4 separate regions of the Homo sapiens genome follow, and regions 1, 2 and 4 are each linked to region 3. The links are contacts of gene promoters, found by promoter capture Hi-C in blood cells and fetal thymus (Javierre and others, 2016). All regions are on one chromosome and are shown on one strand. The core of a region is centred on a gene start or on the middle of the fragment in contact, and the rest is flanking DNA. Distances in the headings are between cores, read along the strand shown. Region 1 holds the start of BIN3-IT1 (BIN3 intronic transcript 1). Region 2 overlaps LOC107986924 (a long non-coding RNA gene). Region 3 holds the start of RHOBTB2 (Rho related BTB domain containing 2). Region 4 overlaps ENTPD4 (ectonucleoside triphosphate diphosphohydrolase 4).

Region 1 (3,196 bases), core at 672-3,171, 360 kb after region 3:
GGTGGGAGGACCTATCTCTCTCTTAGAACCAAGCCCAGATGCCAATGGTTGTATGCCCACCAGGGCACATGGTCCAAGTAGCAAGCCATGGCCACGCTTCCTCGCCCTCCTGGGGGAAAGTGGCCTGTACTGTACTGATACTTTGAGCTGCATCCTTCCCCACTTCTCACAATATCTCTCTTTGTCTCTTTCTCTTATAGGATTCCTTTTAAGATTGGGCAGCCCAAGAAACAGATTGTGCCCAAAACAGTGAGTAACTCGATTGTTTTGCTGTGAGATTCAGTTCTGTATCACATGGCCTTTGCATAAGAATCAAAGCTTTGAATCAACACATCTTGGGGCTGGGAAGACAGCAACCTGGGCCTTCTTCCTGCTTATGCGGATCTAGAACCTCACATAGACTGAGGCTTAGAGGGGCCTCCTGTCCTGGGACACTTCCCCTAGGAAAGGTTAGCCTGGGCTCTTTATCATCCTTGGGCAGGGGGAATGGGTGGATTACAAAAATGTAGAGGAAGATATTGCTTTAGAACGGTCCACCTCTAGGGACTGGCTTGTGGTCTATACTTTTCCTAAGAGTGTTCCTGAAAGAGTGGCCCCCACCAAAGACACTGCCCAGGCATTTATTTCTGTTACCTCAGCTGCAGAAAACTCCAGGAAGCTTTTCCCAGTGGCCTCGGCCTGTTTGTGTCAACTTCCAAATGCATTCTTGGCCATGACCCAGAGTCACTCAGCAGGAAAGGAAGATTGAATCCCACCCCCCTTTAAGCCCACAGTTTTTATCCCTAGAAAGTTTTTATCTCCAGAATGGGAAAGGAAGAGAATCATAGATTCTTAGGAAGTTAGAGCTGGAAGCTCATAGAGACCATCTAGTCCAACCTCCTGATTTTTCCTGATGAAGAAAATGAGGCCCGTGGAAAGTTGCAATGACTTCCTCAAGTTATAAAAACCCCACACTGGCAAAGCTGGAGTTAGAACTCAGGCGTGAGCCCCTGGCTGATACTCTTTCCATTGCCTCATGCTTCCCTGGGCAGTGAAGCCCTCCCAGTGTTTTGGAATCCCGGTGCAAAATAGCCTTTTCAACCTCCTGACCCACAAATCTGAGTGGGTCTCTTGGTTTTAACATGGGAGACCACAACTGTAGAGCCTCTCTGATGTGACAGCTACAGGAAGTCCGGTGCTGTGCTGGCGGCAGAGGCCCTCGTCTGTCATCCCAGCCCCTGACGGTTCTCCTTGTCTTACTAGCTTCTCCCCTCCTTGGCAGAGCTCTCAAAAGTACAGGAAAGAGATTGCTTCAGTGTGGTGAGAAGTTTGGCACACATCTGACCAATGGCTCCATCTCTAGCAAATCCAGAGTAAGGTCACTTGAGAGGAAACAGGCCCAAGTTAAAAGCACCCTCACAGGGTCCAGTGGCTTACGCCTGTAATCCAACACTTTGGAAGGCCAACGTGGGGGCATCATTTCAAGCAAGAAGTTTGAGACCAGCCTGGGCAACAAAGAGAGACCCCGACTCTACCAAAAAATATGCACGCCTGTAGTCCCAGCTACTTGGGAGGCTAAAGCAGGAGGACTGCTTGAGCGCACGAGTTCGAGGCCACAGTGAGCTCTGATTGCACCACTGCACTCCACCCTAGGTGATAGACTGAGACCCTGTCTGTTAAAAAAAAAAGTTGGGGGGTGGGGCCTCTCTGCTTCATGCAGAGGCAGGGTGCTGACCAACTCAGCGCTGACCTCTCATGCAGAGGCTGACCATCTGTGGAGGCTCTCAGCTGAAGTCCAAAGAATCTGGGTGTGCATATGTTGGTCTCTAGCCGGCTGCAGGAAGTGGGAAGGTGTGGCTTTGAGTCTCCAGAGTTTAATCCATGACAGATCTGAAAGGGAAGTGGTTTCAAGAGGGTTCTTTTATTCTGAATGCTCACTACAAACAAAAACCCTCCCAGCACCCCAACCTTTATCAAAATGAACTTTGTTCTCCACAGAAAGTGTAGACAAACCAGCTGCTTTGCCAGTGTGTTGGTGGCAAGATCTCTGGCTCCGTTGATCTAAGGAGTGGCAAGGACTCGCAGTGCGGGCAGATGCACACAGGGCATCCCTCTTCCCTTCCTCGCATCTGTCTCGCTGGAGATGGAATTGTGGTCCTCTGATTATGGCATCTGCTCTCTGATAGACTGGGGGTCAGGTAGGGGTTAAGAAACTAGGTTTGGGAGGCTGGCAGCCTGGGTCCCCATCCTGGCCCTGCCACATGCTGTCTCTGACCTTGGGCAAGTTCCTTAACCTCTGGAGCCTTCATTTTCTCGTTTATAAAATCAGGATGATGACAGTACCTGTGTCACAGATGTTACTTTGAGGCTCACACAAGATAATACACTGAAGGCACCTAACACAGTGTCTGGCACAAAATAAGTCCCCAGTTAACTACATCACAGGAAGCTGGTTGATTTGACCTTCTTTATGAACCATCAGGGACTCAGCCTGTCCCAGGCAGCTAGATTTCCCAACGCAACAAAAGTCGGCTGGGCCTTTGATCTCTCACAAGGAATCACAGCTGAGCTACAGCTCGGAGTAGTTATTTGCTTCCCTGGCCTATACCCCTCCACTCCCCAGAGGCACTGAAGTAGAAGTAGTAAGACCCTGCCTCTTCAGTCTCATTCCCCACCCACCACCCCCTCCCGGCCCCCAAAACAGGCCTGGGCTGTGCAGTTGTCTCAGCATCTCTGGCAGCTGCCCTTGAACAGCAGTGACGCACTCTGTTGTTCTTGCCCAGGCACTTTCAGGGAGGGGAGCAGCTGTGGCTGCCTGGGTTATTGGAAGTCATGGAGCCCCTGTCATGGGAAGAAATGCTCACGTTATCTTCAGGGAGTTTCAGGAGGTTTTTGGCTCAAGGCACCCAACTGTCAGGCACAAAGAAAGCATTGTGTCCCTACCCTCACTGCTCTCCTGTGCCCAGGTTATTAACACAAATTCCATTATTGTCAAGGCTTTGGCTAGAATGGCTTGTTCCTGCTGGGGCTGACCATTAGAACTGAGATGGAGGAACAAAAGCTCCCCCGATCCCGATCCTAACCTTCCACCCAGTCCCCTCCCACTCCCCAGGTCCCATAAAGTGGCGGGAGCATCGTAGCGTAGGAAGAAGCCGCCACACCTTCCTCCATAACCTGGGAGGATGGAAGAGCTCTTCGAAGCTTTGCTCTTCGTGTC
Region 2 (3,022 bases), core at 37-2,536, 320 kb after region 3:
TTCTCACCAGGCCTGCCCAGGGCCTGCAGCCTTCTCTACTTGGGCCGTTTGTTGTGGCATCATGACCCAACCAGAAACAGACTGCTCAATCATAGACTTGTTGTTTGGGATTCCCTTTTGGGTCACGCACTGAGTTCCTAGCTAGAGTTTCAGGAATGCCTCCAGCTGTCAGCTCCCTAGAGGAATAGAGATGTCTGTCACCCTTGAGTCCGGGCACACCCCAAGCCCTCTTCAGGGGTACCTATCCTTGTCTATGGGCCTGTATTCTCTGAAATGGCTCACCCCAGAGGTGACCATTCACTCACCTAGAATCCATCAGTACCCTGTTCTCACCAAAGACAGAGAGGTTAGTGGCCAGAACAGAACTGAGCCTTTGAGCCCTTTGGTATCTTTTCCACAACAGGCTGCAAGAGCTCTCACACTTTTTTTTCCTTGGCGTCACCCCTCCACATTGTCCAGATGCCTGACAGTCTTCCATTCCTCCCCGTTCCTTTCTCTGCACTGCTTAGGAAGGTCAGGTTGGTCCCAGCAGGAGGGAGAGAAGAAAACTTCCAGTACCCGTGGAACCCCAGGGTGCTAATGAAAGTCTTCTTTTGGGTACTTGTTACTTACTTAGGTTTCAGTCCTAAAAATGAAGAGGCAGTTTGATAACCTGGCAGCTACTCTGGTTTTTCTCCTGGGGCCCTTAACCCACTTTGGGACCATCGCCTCCCTCCTACATCTGAATCTCAACTCTGCCACTTTCTGGCAGTGTGACTCTCAGAAACTTCTTAGTCTATGTGACCCATTATTTCCTCTTGTCTTATCATTGCTGTTGCGGAGTTTAAATGAGATACTGTGTATGGTGCCTGGTTCATGGTGGGTGCTCCATCAATGTCATTTATCTTCCCTGTCCCTTACCCCGTCCCCTTCCTCCAAACACAGTGGCAAGAAAACAGGCTCTGTCTCCACTGGGGATCAGTACATCAATTCAAACAACCAGGGGACCTCGCGGTCCCTGCCACCACTCCCAGCCCCTACCATCCACTGCTTATCTGTGTTCTGAAAATAGATCCTCTCCACCCTACCCCCAATCCACTCGAGAGAACATGAGTCCTTTCCCCTCTTGGCCACAGCCAAAGTTCATTGTTGTAATTTCCTGGCCTAATTCCTGACCCCTCCTCAGGTCCTTTTGTCCCATCTCTCTCGCTGAGATGGGTGGATGGGACACCTTCCTGATCCAGTATCATCTGCAAAGTTAATTAATGTGTCATCGGGCTGTTGCCTGCTTCCTGATCCTTATCATGGATTTAAATAAAACGCAGCAGCCCCAGTTCTGCCCCGTCCATCTCTTTCCCTTCATCTTAGTCATCAGTCCTTGACCTCAGCCTTCTGGCTAGCTCTTAGCTTCCAGCTGCAGGGCTGGTGGCCCTGCTTCTGCCCAGGCCTGGTCTGGGGGCAGAGGTGGCATGCAGGGCTTTAATGGAATGCAGGGCTTTAATTCTGCGAGAGAATCATGGACATCAGGCCCTTACCTCAAGGTCCCACTTCCTTCAGGGATTCTCCCTAAATTTTAGCCATAAGGGACTTTAAGATGCCATTTAGTCCAACATGCTCTTTTTCAGATAAGGAAACAGAGGCCTAAAGGGGTTCGTGACTTGTCCAAACTCACACATCTAGGAAGGGCAGAGGTGAGAATTCAGATCCTGACAATCAGTGGAAGGTCCCACAGAAAGGTTAATTGCTTTGTTTATTTATTTAAATGTGTGTCAAGGGCCTGCCATGTGCAACACATTCTTCTAGGCACCGGGGTTATAGCAGTGAACAAAAAGGCCTGCATTGTCACAGCTTACCTTCTCCAGGGCAGAAACAGGTAAAAAACAAACAAGCAAATATGTGTTGTGTCCGATTGTGATGTGTGTTATGGAGAAAAATACAGCAGAGGAAGGAGAACGGCTAGCACTGGGAGAAGGGGATTACAATCACATACGAGTGATCTGGGACGGCTTCACAGGGAGGCGTCTTTCAGCACAGGCCCAGGAAGTGACAGGATGGACCACGTGGCCATCTGAGGAAGAACTGTCTGGGTGCAAAAGTCCTCAGGAGAGCATGGTATTCTTGGAAGTTCGAAGAGTAACATGGAGGCAGAGTGGCTGGAAAGGAAGGGAGGTGACAATAGGAGATGAAGTCGGAGAGATAGTATGGGACCAGGTCACGGGAGCGCTTTAAAGGAAATGAATGTGTCCAAAAGAAGCAAAAAATGCTGAAGGCTAATAGTGAGGGAAAGGCCCCACGACCCCTGAGCAGAGCCCCGACCTGTACTAACTGGACTGCCAGGCCAGCCCTGGGCTGCAGGTACCATGTCCTTTCAGCCCTCAACGCCCCCATTCCTCTGCTCGGCTCTGTCATCCCCTGACTGCAGTCTCCTTAGTCTTTCTTTCACATCTGAGATGTCAAAGACCACCAATGATTCCTAAACTCCAGCCTGGCCAAGGAGAGACAGAAGTGCCTCCTTCAAGAACCATAACCAAGAGCCTTCTCTCTTCCTGTTGACACTTGCCTTCGTGCCAAGTTCCTAATGAGATGAATGACTCTTCCTGCTGGCCAGCCTAGGAGTGGGAATCTCCCTTGGCCTCATCTCTCAGAAATCGCTCCAGCAAAGCCAGCTCCCTCTTTTGTCTGTGGCTAGATTGACCATGTTCTCTCCCTTGGCAAAAAGCTGGTGGATGGTCAGGTTCTTCCAATATGGTCACATTCTCACCCATATCCCGGGCCCTGAGCCCAAAAATCACTTGATCCGCAATACCGCTTGCCACATCCTCTCTATTTCCCTGGATTCTGGCAAATCTCCGTCTAGTAACATCATTTCTATGGCCTAGCCTAGGCAGTTTCATGCCTGAGAAAAAAACATTTCTTCCTCCCTCTCCCCACCTTTTTTGGTCTTCCATTTCATGCCTCCCAAAAGTTCCCCTCAGTTCTTGGCTTTCCCTTGCAACTTGGCATCATCCGGAGCTTCTTCACATTTCATTCATTCATCCATGAA
Region 3 (3,040 bases), core at 541-3,040:
GCCTCTCAGCTTCCCCTCTCCCTCCGGCTCTCTCTTCTTCCCTGACTCCAGACTCTCCCTCACAATTGCCTCATCCCCACTCAATCAACCTCCATAAACTATGACCTCCTCACCACCCAGCCCTGGGCATCACAACCCCCAACTCACTCCTCTTCCATGACAATCGCAAAGTCACTGGCATGTGTTCCTTCCATCCCTGTCCCATGATCCCTGTGCCCCTCCAAAAACAGCCTCCTGCCCACCGCTCTCCCAGCTCTTTGTACTTGGTGCAAGCCAAAACCCAAGGTGTGCTGAAATTAGCTACAAACCTCGTGCTCTCCCAGTCCCACCCCCACACCCCTACACACACTCTTTGCAGAGCTCAGAAAGGGCCCCTTTCCCTCCCACAGCTGATAGGAGGCTTGTTCATCTGTGGCTGCCCTAGTCTGGTTGTCAAGGAAACAACAGAATCTCCCTGGGAGCCTGGCTTGTCTCCTAGCAACCAGTATCCCACATCATCTTACAAAATGGGAATGGGAGGAAAATCCTGAAAATGAAGGTAAAATCAAGGGAGATGGATTGAATGGAGAATTGGAAGGAGAAGAACAAAGAGAGAGTGGACTCCTAATTCGGGGAGGCTCCCACGGGGGTCGCTGGCATTGCAAGAAGCCCCGTGCAGATCCAACAGAAAGCAAGGCCCAAAGGGACCCTGAATGGTCAGATTAAAGAAATGCAAGCCTAAACACAGATAAGCCCCCTCAAACCTAAAATGTGGACACATCACCAAACACCGCCAAAGATCTCCCCAGTAGTTTCACAGAACTCAGTTACATAGACTGCAATGGAGTTGAGTTCAAAGAACCAGCTCCGGAACCGCCAGCAAAACACCCCAATTCCACTGTTGTTTTGTGTTTGTTTTCTTAACAGAATCACTCCCACCACTCTGGACCGTTTTTCCTTTTTTCTGACACGCTACTCTGCACACACACAAAATAGAAATTTAAAAATTTTTAAACATCGAGAAGGGGGAGGGGCACGACAGGCCGAAGCAATCAAGTCATCTTCCTTTCCCTAGAAACACCGGAAAGGATTAGGCTCCAGCCCCGCTGTACCCAGCAGCCGAAGCCAGAGCCCAGGGACTAGCGGGGCCCGGGGAACGTAGCGAGGGGCGCGGCAGGGCAGGGAGGGCGGAGCGGCGCGTCTGCAAGGGCTGCTGGCCACCCCGCCATAACCGCAAGCAGCCATCTACTTACACCACTACATGTGACGGGGTGGCTTCTAGCGTGAGGAACACATCTCTTCCTGCTGAGCACGCTCATTTTAGTGAAATGTCAGGGGTCCCTCCGCGCCTGCAAGTTGGGACGACGCCGGCGCCGCCGCGCTGCTGCTGGGCTCCAGCCTCCCGGCCAGCTCGCGGCCACTCAGAAACTCCGGCAGGGCAGCCCAGGCCGGACGTGGGCCCAGGAGCGGACGCGCGCGCTGCACTGCAGCCGCTGCCCCTTCCGGATCAGCATCGCCCCGCGCGCCAGGCGCCCAATGTCACGGCGGCGCGCGGAGCCGGGCTGCGGAGGCAGCGGGCGGCGCGCAGGGGCGCCGGGAGAGGGGCGAGGCCGCCGCCGCTACGCGCCCGGGCCCGCGGCGAAGGCGCTGCCGCGAAGACGCCTGGCGCTGCAGTCCCAGGTACCGCTCGCGACCTCCTTTTTTCATTCACAAAAAAAGGATAGGGAAAAAAAAAAGAAAAGAAAAAAACGGGAGGGTAAAAAAAGGAGGAGAAAAAAATCGCACCCAAGACGACAGCCGTGACGGGCCCCGCCCACTGCCGCGCGCAGTTGGTGGAAAGCGTTCGGGGGGCGGGGAGGGGGCGGGCGGGGGAAGAAGGGGATTGGACGCCCCGCAGATCCCGCCTCGCAGCACCGCTCCCGCCCACCGCCCGCGCTCTTCCGCCCCTCCCGCAGCGACGCCGCGGGGAGGGTCTCGGCTCGCGGGTCTGGGTGGCGCCGGTCCCTCCACCTGGCGAGGCGCAAAGGCTCTCCGGACGCCCACGGGGTTTTCCCCTTTCCTTCGGGAGGCGGGGGAGAACCTCTGAGAGGCATCCTAGTGCACCCTGGAAGGGATGCTAGTTGGAGGAGAACGTGTGGTTGTAAGCCCAGGCCCCCACCACTTGCCCACGGGGAGGCGACGGCAGGGGCAGTCGGGGGGGCGGGGGGCGGGGGCCGGGTAGGGACGAATAACCGGCGTTTCCATACAAGCCCTCTGCTGCTTTGGGAATTTTCGTGGCACTTGAGAGCCTTCCTCCCTCCATGGCCCTTAATGAGTTGTGGGGTGGGTACCTGTACCACGTTACCTGTCTCCCACCTAGGCCTTCTTCAGCGGGTCCCCACCTCCATCCCATCCCCCTCCTGTTGCCTCCTGGAGTTCAGTAATAGCTGCTAATCTCTGAAAGAAACACCATGAAGTGAGTAGCCTCGAAAATCGTCCCTAAGCCTTCTTTGGGTTTTCTGCCTCAATTTACCCCTCTGTAAAATAGAGAGATTCTAAGGTATAACATCTATAACCTGAGGGGTCCCTAGAAGACACTTTCCATATTCAAGGCTGGTTTTATCAGGATAATCTTTTTTTTTTTTTTTTTTTTTTGAGTCTCCCTCTGTTGCCCAGGCTGGAGTGCAGTGGTGCAATCTTGGTTCACTGCAACCTCCGCCTCTTGGGTTCAAGCAGTTCTGCCTCAGCCTCCCGAGTAGCTGGGACTACAAGTGCACGCCACTATTCCCAGCTAATTTATGTATTTTTGGTAGAGACGGGGTTTCACCACCTTGGCCAGGCTGGTCTCGAACTCCTGACCTCGGGTGATCTGCCTGCCTTGGCCTCCCAAAGTACTAGGATTACAGGCGTGAGCCACCATGCCCAGCCAGGATGATCTTGACTGCTAGTGTTAAGTAGTCAGCTCAGTCTGGTTTGATTCATCTCCTCAGTTACCTCTGGACAATTTTTAAAGCCCAGACCAGCCTGCCACCCACCTGAACCGCCTCCACCACTCCTCCATCTTGTGCTCTGAAAATGCAAA
Region 4 (2,761 bases), core at 171-2,670, 430 kb before region 3:
CAGAGAGGGAAGAAAGGAAAGGAAGGGGCCACAAATGGTTGAAGTGGGCAGGTGGGCACCCAGGGAGTTAGGGGACCCCGCCTTCCAGCTCTGGGCATAGAAGAGTTAGTCACATACCTGAGGATCCTGAAACAAGGGCTGAGAAAACCTCATTGCTCCAGCTGAGAGGTAGTAGTGGATTTGCCATTTTTAAACAGTTGCCTAAGAAAAAACGTTGAAGAATATGCAGCAGACACTATATGTGGCCTGTAAAGCCTAGAATATTTACTAAAATATTTACAGAAAAAGTTTGCTGGTCCTTGTGAGAACAATGCAGTTCAAAAAAGGATACAGACAGAAGCATCCTCTTAAATCAGGAATGTAGTTTCCATTTGTGGGCACGAAAAGATGGACAAGAGAAGTAACCAAACTTCAATCTTAAAATATTTGTTGCACCAGAATTTCACTTCGGATTTTTCCGTCTAGATTATTTTCAAGATGAGTTTTGAAACAAACCAAGAAACCTGCCCCTCACCCAAAATTGTTTAAAAAGAGACCACTCAAGGGAGTTCATTATGCCGTATGGAGATGTCTGCAGTCGCAGCAAATCACATTCCAGAGAAGGTCTCGCGTAGGTGAAGACAGCCAGGTGCTTTCTCTAAGAGATACAGGGTGGGTGAGAGACAAGCCAGGGAGGATCTTAATTCAAGAGAAGAATTCATACCAAGAGCTGACCAAGAAGGCAGTAAATTCTGTGTACTTGTAGCAGAAGAAATTGGACTAGGAACTTGCCCAAAGCTTTATCAAAGAAAAGCATTGTGTTCAATCTTGGTAGAAACATGCCAGCAATAAGTGCTTATGTTCCATAGCCATATCATGGGCTTCTCACTTTTAAACCTCCTCCAGGGGATGTTCTCAGACATTTCACAATCCCTCTGGGGACATTACAGTAGAAGAGAAACACATGGAACTGTACCAGTGCTTTTTGCCCATGTTCATCCTAAGCTCCGGCTTTAGGCAGTGCTTTCTGACCTGGGCGGAGTGAAGACGCTGCTGGTGGCTGAGGCCAGTAACATGGGGCCCCTGCCCAGCCACCCTGAAGGCTGGGTAGGTCCCTCTTTTCACCACCAGTTTTCCACATCTGTGTACTCTAGATTAACAAACTCTGGATAAACAGATATTTACATTTTAAACTCAGGCCTACACAGAGTAGTTTTCCTTATAAGGAGCATGTATCACTTAGCAAGAAACTAAAAATGGCAAATGAGTTTTTCATCCTTTAAGAAAAAAATCAGCTTTAGAATTCTCTGCGGTCAGTTGTGTGCAATGCAACAAAACTACCTTTCAGTAAATTACTTAGTTATTTATTTCAGTGTTTTGTTTCTTTTGATACTAAGTTTCCCTTTCAATAATGAATGATGTGACCAACCAAGGAGAATTTGTTTGTTCTGTACTAAAATTATATTTTACAGTTAGGAATTATAAAAAGCAAGGGAGCATCTTTAAATGTTTTTTGTTTAAGCGATGTCTTCCATCCAAAGTAAGAATAATACTCTCGGAAGGTCCTTTTGGTGTCATGTCACTTGCTGTATGTGGCAGCCTTACAGTGCCACACTTGGGTACTGAAAAATCAATAAAACGAAAGTTCATCATCCCATGGCCCGTAGACTGTGTGGGCTTGCTTCCTTGTCATCTTTGAATCTTCTTACTCATTAGAATGATGAGTTGAACTTGAGTCCAAATTCAGTGAAATACATTGTCTGAGTCTGACGCACACTCTTTGCATGTGTTGTGTTGGGTGTGCATACAGTGAAGCACAATTGTGTGGGGTTGTGGAGAGGGCGTCCACACTCTCTGCAGCTCAGAAAGCAGATATTTCACAAGTAGTGACCAACCCACGACGTTAAGCCATTCACCAACAATAATTGCCACTCTGAGATGACTGTTTATAAGGTCACCATTTTAAGTACCTACTTGTATATAGACAAGGAAAAGTAATAAAATTAACCAATTTTTATGTATTTAATAGTAACAGCAAATGCTGACTTTATGTTACACTGTTTTGCAGTTCGATCTAAGCTTAGAACCTTTGGCTTACTTCCAGAAAATTATGACTGTCATTATTAATGTTACGTGTTACCAATATGGAGGATGACATTAGACGCTCAGCATGTTTCTCAGCCGTTGGAGAATACATAGATGTTCTCCTGGAGCAGGAAGGTGGGCCTGAGCCATAACCTGAAAATAGATGATAGAGACAGATGGGAAGGGAAGGGGACCAGCTGTTAGGACCAACAAAAATAAAGGCCTGAGACATGCCGGAGAGGAGAGGGAAGCGCAAAAACAAAATGAGAGAACAGAGCCAGCAAAGTGAGCTCAAGGGAGGTCCTCAAGCCATTGATCGCTAGGAAAACAGGACACAGCATTAAGATAGAACTGTCGTAAATAATTTTTGAGGCAGTGCAATGACTATAGGGCTTTTTGCCTGACTTTAAATACGTTAAAATATCTAAGATGTTAAAAGACATCTAAATTTTTATTCCACTTGGTGGAAGAGAAGTCAGTGCCTATTTCCAACACTAACCATGTTGACAGGTCTGAAAAGCCATGGTTCTGTGTTTTTGTTTTCAGTCTGTTTCCATTTGTCCTATGAATTGGCATGTGCCCTGTGGGTTTTTTTGGTTTTTTTGAGATCCGGAAATGCTAATGGTTTGCACAGAGGGGGTCGTGAGGTGCAGGTCACCTCTGTCAGAGTCACAGTGTCTTCTTTTGGAAACGTCAT

What was found. Contacts are between HindIII fragments. The CHiCAGO score rates a contact against its expected background, and 5 or more counts as called.
Region 1: a contact is called between a fragment that was not itself captured here and the fragment with the promoter of RHOBTB2 in region 3, in 1 of 17 cell types (fetal thymus). The highest score is 5.9, in fetal thymus.
Region 2: a contact is called between a fragment that was not itself captured here and the fragment with the promoter of RHOBTB2 in region 3, in 2 of 17 cell types (fetal thymus and naive CD8 T cells). The highest score is 6.8, in fetal thymus.
Region 4: a contact is called between a fragment that was not itself captured here and the fragment with the promoter of RHOBTB2 in region 3, in 1 of 17 cell types (non-activated CD4 T cells). The highest score is 5.0, in non-activated CD4 T cells.

What each region holds. Positions count from the first base shown.
Region 1 is chr8:22,641,808-22,645,003 of GRCh38, reverse strand. It overlaps BIN3 (bridging integrator 3), which reads left to right. Exons shown (of 9, transcript NM_018688.6): 2 at 201-249. BIN3-IT1 (BIN3 intronic transcript 1) reads left to right here and starts at 2,795. Exons shown (of 1, transcript NR_027715.1): 1 at 2,795-3,196. The HindIII fragment of the contact is 2,522 bases long and covers 661-3,182 here.
Region 2 is chr8:22,680,879-22,683,900 of GRCh38, reverse strand. It overlaps LOC107986924 (a long non-coding RNA gene), which reads right to left. Exons shown (of 2, transcript XR_001745827.2): 1 at 1-3,022. Among named protein-coding and RNA genes, the nearest start is that of EGR3, 11 kb to the left of the region's middle. The HindIII fragment of the contact is 3,949 bases long and covers 1-3,022 here.
Region 3 is chr8:22,998,298-23,001,337 of GRCh38, reverse strand. It overlaps RHOBTB2 (Rho related BTB domain containing 2), which reads right to left and starts at 1,790. Exons shown (of 10, transcript NM_015178.3): 1 at 1,233-1,790. RHOBTB2-AS1 (RHOBTB2 antisense RNA 1) reads left to right here and starts at 1,533. Exons shown (of 2, transcript XR_007060857.1): 1 at 1,533-1,659. RefSeq lists silencers at 1,081-1,130, 1,461-1,630, 1,851-2,110. The HindIII fragment of the contact is 10,673 bases long and covers 1-3,040 here.
Region 4 is chr8:23,428,037-23,430,797 of GRCh38, reverse strand. ENTPD4 (ectonucleoside triphosphate diphosphohydrolase 4) reads left to right here. Exons shown (of 13, transcript NM_004901.5): 13 at 1-1,636. Among named protein-coding and RNA genes, the nearest start is that of LOXL2, 25 kb to the right of the region's middle. The HindIII fragment of the contact is 1,281 bases long and covers 780-2,060 here.